Linked DNA regions of Homo sapiens: all the other regions are linked to region 1. Evidence: promoter capture Hi-C in human tissues and cell types (Jung and others, 2019). All regions are on one chromosome and are shown on one strand. The core of a region is centred on a gene start or on the middle of the fragment in contact, and the rest is flanking DNA. Distances in the headings are between cores, read along the strand shown. Region 1 holds the start of CAMSAP1 (calmodulin regulated spectrin associated protein 1). Region 2 overlaps KCNT1 (potassium sodium-activated channel subfamily T member 1). Region 3 has its middle 43 kb from the start of TMEM250.

What was found. Contacts are between HindIII fragments. The study calls those that stand out against the background at their distance.
Region 2: a contact is called between a fragment that was not itself captured here and the fragment with the promoter of CAMSAP1 in region 1, in 1 of the 25 tissues and cell types used here (mesendoderm cells).
Region 3: a contact is called between a fragment that was not itself captured here and the fragment with the promoter of CAMSAP1 in region 1, in 2 of the 25 tissues and cell types used here (IMR-90 fibroblasts and dorsolateral prefrontal cortex).

Annotation. Positions count from the first base shown.
Region 1 is chr9:135,906,293-135,908,992 of GRCh38, forward strand. CAMSAP1 (calmodulin regulated spectrin associated protein 1) reads right to left here and starts at 1,254. Exons shown (of 17, transcript NM_015447.4): 1 at 708-1,254. The coding sequence starts at 867. CAMSAP1-DT (CAMSAP1 divergent transcript) reads left to right here and starts at 1,541. Exons shown (of 2, transcript XR_007061860.1): 1 at 1,541-2,627. RefSeq lists silencers at 393-442, 843-912, 993-1,102, 1,143-1,822. The HindIII fragment of the contact is 39,877 bases long and covers 1-2,700 here.
Region 2 is chr9:135,712,428-135,715,127 of GRCh38, forward strand. KCNT1 (potassium sodium-activated channel subfamily T member 1) reads left to right here. Exons shown (of 31, transcript NM_020822.3): 2 at 2,150-2,293. Among named protein-coding and RNA genes, the nearest start is that of KCNT1, 12 kb to the left of the region's middle. The HindIII fragment of the contact is 6,055 bases long and covers 1-2,700 here.
Region 3 is chr9:136,160,448-136,163,162 of GRCh38, forward strand. No RefSeq gene overlaps it. Among named protein-coding and RNA genes, the nearest start is that of TMEM250, 43 kb to the left of the region's middle. The HindIII fragment of the contact is 7,426 bases long and covers 1-2,715 here.

The sequences.
Region 1 (2,700 bases), core at 4-2,503:
TATTAACCTTTAATTGTACCTGAAACAAAGCACCTGAAATTAATAAAGAAGTCAGCCACTGACGAGAATCACTAGGTCTGTCCTGTTCCCAGGGCACGAAACAGAAGCGTCTTAATCCACTAAGCACATTAGGGCCTAACAAACTGGACTGAGTAACAAGGTTACCTAGTTCTTCCAAACAGGAATTAACCAAAGGGGATCATTATGATTAAGCACAATGCGCGGAATACGCAATTTCTAGTTGGGGAATTCAACAGCTGACAGCTTGTAAGCATCAAAATTCATAACAAGTGCAAGGCTCGGAATCACAGGTCCAGCACTGGACGATGCCCGGCGCGCCGGGAAGCGGCGCCTCAGACGGCGGCCCCGCGTCCCCATGGTCCCTCCCTGCGCCCAGAACCGGGCAGCTCCTTCCCGCCGCCGCCGCCGCCAACGGGAGGCTGGGGGCACTCCCGAAATAGGAGCGGAAGCCCCGACCCACGCCGCCCTCCGCCGCAGGGACGCCCACTCGCCAGGTGACCGCGTCCCCACGCTCCGCGTTGCCCGGGCGCCGCCAGGACCTCGGAGGCGGCCGGCCCAGCCCCGACCCTGTGCGGACGCGGCACAAAGGCGCGGCGCGCGGACCCCGACCCGGCCGGACCCCGGCCGCGTCCCCCGGCCCCGGCCCGCGCCCCTGGCCCCCGCCCCGCGCCCCTCACCCGGCCCACCTCGGCCGTAGGCCTTGGCGCAGATCCACTGCAGGTTGGCGGCGATCTTGGCGCGCGCCGCGTCGTAGCGGTCCAGGGGCACGAGGTCGGCGGCGCCGTCCGGCGGGGCCTCCATCTTCCTCCAGCCCTCGGCGGCGGCGCGGCCGCTCGCGTCCACCATCTGCAGACAAAGGGCTGAGGCGGCGGCCCGGCCGCAACAAAGGCGCCGCCGCCCCTCGCCGCGCCGGGCCCGGTGCGCCCCGAGCCACCACTCGGCCCCGCAGCCGGCCAGCCGGGAGGGGCGCCCGAGCGCGGCCCCCGCCTCACCTCACAGCCGCCGCCGTCGCCGCCCCCGCGGCTGCTGCATGCTGCGGGCGCTGAGCCCGAGCGGAGGAGGTGCCGAGCCCGCGGCCCAAAGAGGCGGCGGCAGGAGGGCGCGGGCCGGGGGCGGGGGCGGGCGCGGGGGCGGGAGCGGGCCGGGGGCGGTGGCAGCGCGTGCGCGGTCCCGGGTGAGCGGCGGCGGCGGCGACAGCGGCTGAGGCGGTGGCCAAGGAGCGGGAGCGCGCTCACCGCCGGGGCCTCGCACAGGCGCAGTAGGCACCGCCCGCCACCCCGCCCTCGACCCCGCCCCCAGCTCCGCTCCCTTCTCGCGCCTGCCCCGCCCCTTTCCGCAGGCGCAGTAGGCACCGCCCGCCAGCCCGCGCCCGCCCCGCCCCTTTCCGCAGGCGCAGTAGGTGGCACCCGCAGGCCTGTGCCTGCCCCGCCCCTTTCCGCAGGCGCAGTGAGCGTCGACCCGCCCCTCCCCGCCCGCTTCCGCAGGCGCAGTAGGACCCGCCCTGGTCCGCGCCTGCCCCGTTGCTTTCCTCAGGCTCTAAGGCCCGCGGTGTGGAGCGCGGCGTAGGCAGCGGGGAGTGGGCGGCGCGGGGTGGGTGGAGTGGGTCGGCGGCGGGGATCCTGCCGAGCCCGCAGCTGCCCTCTTTTAGCGCCGTGTCTCCTCCCCGGCCCTGGCTCGTCCCACCTCAGCCACAGCCCGGCCCCCTGGCCGGCCGAGGTCTCGCCGCCGGCGCCCTGGGGACCTCGTGGGTGTGGCCGGCGGCGACCTCGGCAGGCGACAGCCCAGCAGACGGGCACCAGGTGGACGTGCCAGTCTCCAGACCCCCGTCCCGGTGCAGGGAAGGTGGGCGTTTGGACCCCTGAGGCAGAAACAGGTGCGGCCCCGCCGGCGCATCCCCCGGAAGGGACGCTGACTTCGTTCCCCTGGAGCCTGCGTCGGGGCCCGCGCTGGGCTGAGAATTACGGGAACGCCGTGAGAGTTTGCATTCCGAGGATTTGGTCTGAGAACCTCACCAGCGAAATAGAGAACTGCCCCCGGGAGAGCCGGCCCACGTGCCGCCCACCGGCGCCTTGACGGCAGGGAGAGGTCGAGCTTCCAGGGAGCGGGCGCCCGGCGCGGGGCTCCCAGCCTGTCTGTACCTGGTCGAGACACCCCGTGCCAGAGGCGGAACATGTATGAAATGCCAGGTGCCCAGAGGACCCAGGCAGTCCGTCATTCACATACCAACCCACGTGCAGGCTTCAATTCAACCTTGAAGCCATTTGGGCCTGGGCTTTTTTGATGACTTATTTGATTCATAGTTTTTTGGTTACTAATTGAGTCTCTTCACTTGTTATAGGTCTGTTGAGATTGTCTATTTTTTCTTGAGTCAGCCGTCTGAAAAGAACACGAGGTGGACAGGGCAGAGCGGTCAAGGAAAGCCATAGGAGGAGGGCACTTATTTGAGCAAAGACCGGCGGGACGTGGGCGTCGAGGGTAAGGATATCTGCAGAAGTACTGTCTTGAGCAAGGAGCACGGCAGACAGAGCCTCTGAGACACGAGAGCCTGGAGTGTAAGAAACACAGTAGAGGCCACTAAGTCGAGAACGCAGGAGCTGGAAGGACTGGTAGGAAATGGGAGGTGGGGACATGGAGGGATGCAGACAGGTCCTGCACAGTCAGAACTGTGGCCCCTTCTCT
Region 2 (2,700 bases), core at 45-2,544, 190 kb before region 1:
CAAGAGAAGAGGGGGTGCAGAATTCGAGGTGGGCCCCAGGGTCCCCGTGTCTGGCTATGCCAGGGTTATGTTCCAGTTCCACCTGAACCAGCTTCAACAGGGACCAGACCCCCCAACACTCCCCTCTCCCCCTGTGCCCAAAAAAGCTGGCCGATGTAGGCCTTCCTGCTTGCGAAAAGTCTCAACCAGACCCCGAGGACACGGGGAGCAGCTGTTTTGCTGCTGTCCTCCTGCGATGGGCCCCTTTCCCAGAGACCCTGTAGCCCCGGCCCTCAGTCCCAGCCCTCAGCCAACACAACAGCCAAGGATTTTAGCCCCGGCCCTCAGCCAACACAACAGCGAAGTATTTTCAAGGTTTCTGGCTCTGTGGGGGGAACAAGGCAGGATGCCAGGAGGCCTGCAGGACACCTGCTTATGGCCGTGTGCTCGCTCAAGTGTCAAAGCAGCTTCCCAAGGGAAGAAGGGCATCTTGTCCTTGTCACCCTCCCCAGGCCACATCTGGGGAGCAGGGGTGGGGCCAGGTCTCTGGACTCCTGGTGCACTTCCTTCCCCTGGTGACTCCTGAAGCAAGCCAAGGTCCAAGCCCCTGAGCTTGTCCATGGGCCCTGCCAAGACTGGGCCTTGAGGCCAGGAGGAGGAACCAGAGCCGCTCAAAAGGCAGACGGGGTGGGGACGGGAGGAGGCAGCCACGCCTGAGGAGCCGGCAGTCTCTTGGGGTTTTGCCATTGAAAGGGGCTTTCAGTGAGGAAGGCACAAAATCAAGAAAATAGAGCCCCGACCCCTGGCCACGTGGTTCCCCTGCCTGCCTGCACCTCCCCATGGCCCAGCCAGCTTGTGACTAAGGAAAAACATGCAGCTACGCTGATGCAGTTAGGAAAATGTTATTTTTTAAATGCTGCCAGATCCTGGGGGTTGAACCTGTGACCTCAGAACAAGGAGCAGGGTTTGGGGCACGCACCTGCTGCCTGCAGCTTCAGCCTGGGGTGCCCATAGCTCCTTGCCTGCTGCTTGTCTGAGGGTTAGGGGACACAGGAGAGGCACTTGGTGGGGGCTCAAGGAATGTGCCCACCCCTCCCGACTTGAGGAGAGAGAGGAGAGTTTTGTAGCATCCCTGGACCTGGTGTTCCAAATGAGTGGCCTCTGTGCAGGGCCTACGGGCACAGCACGGGGAGCTGGGTATGGTCAGAGCCTCCTGCCCCTGCCCGTGGGGGAGCCAGCCCCCTCCATCCCCCCTCTGCTCTCCTGCTGGCCTCGAAGCCTTGAACAAGGGCCGGCCTGGGCCAGGTAAGGAGCTCCCTGCCCCTCAGCTCCTGCTTCTCCTGGAGCAGCCAAAACTCACTTCAGTGGGGGACATGGGGACAGGAAAGATGCAAGACCCCTGGAAGACACCTGCTTGGGCCCCCAAGAACTGCAGACCACCAGGGGTCCTCCCACTCTACCTGGTGTGCCACGATGCCCCTAACCTGCGCTGCCAGCTCTCTGTGTCCCTTTGATCCCTCACCTGGTGACAGTGGCAGGGCAGCTCAGGGCCCAGAGGGCCTGGCAGCCCCCCGGGGTTCTGACCTGAGCTGAGCTGCTCCGCCTGGGGAGGCTGCAAACAAGGGTGTCTTCTTAGGCCTCCTGGTCACTCCACCCTCACCCCTCAACAGCCTGAGGGTCTGAGACGGGGGTCTCTGGGGCTGGACCCTGAAGGAAGATTGAGCAGCCGGCCTCGGCAAAGACCCTGGGGACGGGGAGGGGAGCTGGGGAGTTGGGAGGGGTTGCAGGGGTGTGGCGGGGCTTCAGAGCAGGGGGAGGGCCTCCATCCTGGCTCTTGGGGGATCAGGGAGGAGTGGTGCGCGCCTGTCCCTGAGCTGGCCATGACAGCTCCCGTCCCCCTTACCTCCTGCCAGGCCCCGGGGCCGCTTTGGAGGGAGCCCCGCCCCCTGCCCCTGCGCAGCCCCCGCCCTAGCCCCAGCCCGGCGCAGCCGGTCCCGCGCGCCCCCGCCCGCATGTGCCGCCAGGCCCGCCCCCGCCCGGCCGCCCGCCCGCCCGGTGGGTCGCGGTGGCCGCGGGCTGCGCTGCGCGGGCCGGGCCTGGCGGGCCGGGGGCTGCGCGCGTCCGCGAGGGCGCCCGACGCGGGCTGAGGGGCGCTGGCGTGTGCCCGCAGGCGGCCCTGCGCGGGGGACGGCGCGCTCCTGGACACCGCCGGCTTCAAGATGAGCGACCTGGACTCCGAGGTGCTGCCCTTGCCGCCGCGCTACCGCTTCCGGGACCTGCTGCTGGGCGACCCGTCCTTCCAGAACGACGACAGGTAGGGACCGGGCGCGGGGTGGGGGCTGGGGTCGCCGTCCCGGCGCCGCCGCACGCCCGGAGCTGTCCGCGGTGCTGACGGCCGGTCCCGCGCGCCCCCGCAGCCGCCGGCGCCCTTCAACTTTTCCCGGCTTCTGGGGACGCAGAAGTTTCGGAGGGGGTGCGGGCAGGGGGAAGCATCTTCTCGGGAGGGGGTCTCCGGAGGAGGGCGCGGGATGCTCGGAGCTGCGGAGTCTTCCAGAGCCCGACTTGGGGCGCGGAGGCGGAGGGCGGCCTGGCCTTCCGGTGTCTGCTCCCAACCCCCAGCACCCCAGTTTTTCTGGTTTTGGGGGCAAGCCAGGGCCGGAAGCGCCCCGGTGGCGGAGCCCGCAGCCTGGCTGAGGGCTGGCGTCCTCCAGGCTCAGGCAG
Region 3 (2,715 bases), core at 112-2,611, 250 kb after region 1:
TGGAGTGTGTGGGGCATGTTGGGAGGGTGGCGTGGTGGCTGCACTGGGGCTGCCTGGTCACTGCAGGGGTGAGGCTTGGAGACTGCAGGAGTGGGAGGGCCTGGGTGGGGCCCTGCTCTCCATGAGCCGGCCCCTATGGCTCTCCCTAGGGAGCAGACACCTGCAGGGAAGGCCGGGCCAGCTGAGGGGCAGCCTTGGAGAAGCAGCTGCAGGAACATGATGTGGGCTGTGTCTGCAGGTGAACGGCTTCTACAGGGCAGTGTGGGAGGGGAGGTTCCCAGGAGCGGGGAGGCCTGGGCTGCGCTCCTCAGGCCCCTCGCCTCTGGTGTTCCCTGGAAGGAGGGGCGGGAAGCTGGCGGCCCCGGCTGATTGTATTAGACAGGCCTTTATTGATCCAGCTCTTGCTTATCCCTGGTGTCTCATTTCAATAAACAGCAGTTTGGAGAAATTAGCGAGGGACCCTGGCTCCTTCCCCTCCCCCCTGCCCCTCTCCCCCATCTTCCTTTGGATTTGTCAGGAATGGAAGATTTATGAGGATTCGAGTGAGATTCTAATTTGTTCCTGAGACAGCGGGCTCAGAGCATTGAGGGCACGGGCCAAGCCCTTGCTGTTTACATGCCCTGACATGGGGACACAGTCTGGGCCAGGCCAGGGTCCTGGGCAGGGGCCTCACTGCTCAGCCACAGCTGCAGTCATCCGAGGAACTCAGCATGGTGAGAGGGAGATGTCACCAGACCTCTGGGGCCGAGTCAACCATGGGAGAAACCATCAGGAGGCAGCCTGGTGGGAGGGGACTGCCCCAGAGGGCACCACAGAGTTCTACCAGTCCTGGGCAAGTGGTCGTCACATTGCCCGGGCCTCAACCCCTCATCTGCAGGGGAGATGACAGATGTATGTGTGTGTGTGCATATGTGTGTGTGCATGTGTGTGTGCATATGTGTGTGGGTGTGTGCATATGTGTGTGGTGTGCGTGGTATGTGTGTCTGTACATGAGTGTATGTGATGTTATGTGCACCTGTGTGTGTGTACATGGCATGTGTGCATATGTGGTGTGTGCGCGCTTGCTGTGCTTTGGCACACATTGACACTGGCAGTGTAAAAAAACTCCCGTTTTTTTACCCAAATGCAACAGACATTTTCCCAAGTTATTCAATACTCCTTCTCTTTTTCAAAAATATATTTGTCACAGCTACAGAAACTCAGGGGATGGGCTGTAGCATAAAACCCTGAGTGGTTTCGCTTTTCTCCAGACCTTTTGGGGATGCTGTCCCTTCCCTCCCCTCCTTGCCCCTTCCCTCCCTTTCCCTTCCCTTTCTTTGGAAACAGGGTCTGGCTCTGTCGCTCAGGCTAGAGTGCAGAGGTGTGATCACGGCTCACTGCAACCTCCACCTCCTGGGCTCAAGCGATCCTCCCACCTCAGCCTCCTGATTAGCTGGGACTACAGGCAGGAGCCACCACACCGGCTATTTCTGTATTTTTCATAGACTTGAGGTATTGCCATGTGGTCCAGGCTGGTCCTGAAATCCTGGGCTCAAGCGACTGACCCACCTCGGCCTCTCAAAGTGCCAGGATTACCAGCGTGAGCCACCATGCCAGTCTGGGATGCTATTTCTTTATAAATGACATGTCCATGCAGGTGCCAGCCCAGCAGCCTCTGCCTGGAGGCCCCCTTGGCTGCCCTGTCTCTCCCTGGTGCCCATGGGGTCCCTCCTAGTCATAGGGTCCCATTTAGCGAGGCCCACCCAGCCCTCCAGGGAGCCCCCTCCCTCCCTCCCTTCCATTCCCTGCTTATTGCCCATCCCACCTCCAGCAGGTGGGCTCTAGAAGGGCCAAGCTGGCTTTTGTTCCCTGCTCAATCTTCAGTGTCTAGAACAGTGCCTGGTACACAGTGCCTACTGGATGATTTTTAAAATAGATTCTGGCCAGGTCCAGTGGCTCATGCCTGTAATCCCAGCATTTTGGGAGGCTGAGGTCAGGAGTTTGAGAACAGCCTGGCCAATATGGTGAAACCCCATCTCTACTAAAAAAACAAAAATTGGCTGGGCGCGGTGGCTCACCGCCTGTAATCCCAGCACTTTGGGAGGCCGAGATGGGCGTATCACGAGGTCAGGAGATTGAGACCATCCTGGCTAACATGGTGAAACCCTGTCTCTGCTAAAAATACAAAAAATTAGCCGGGCGTGGTGGTGGGTGCCTGTAGTCCCAGCTACTCGGGAGGCTGAGGCAGGAGAATGGCGTGAACCCGGGAGGTGGAGCTTGCAGTGAGCCGAGATCAGGCCACTGCATTCCAGCCTGGGCGACAGAGTGAGACTCTGTCTCAAAAAAAAAAAAAATTAGCCGGGTGTGGTGGCTCGCACCTGTAGTCCCAGCTACTCAGGAGGCTGAGGCAGGAGAATCACTTGAACCTGGGAGACAGAAGTTGCAGTGAGCCAAGATCACACCACTGCACTCCGGCCTGGGTGACAGAGTGAGCCTCCATCTCAAAAAAAAAAAAAAGATTCTAACAATCATTGACTTTAAAAAACAGCTTGATTGAGTTATAATTCTCATACCGTATAATTCACCCATTTAAATTGTGTAATTCAGTGGGTTTTGATATATTACATTAATTTTTAAAAATTGAGGCAAAACATATATAACATAACATTTGCCATTTTAACCTTTTTAAGTGTGTAATTCAGTGGCATTTAATACCTTCACATTTTTGTGCAACTA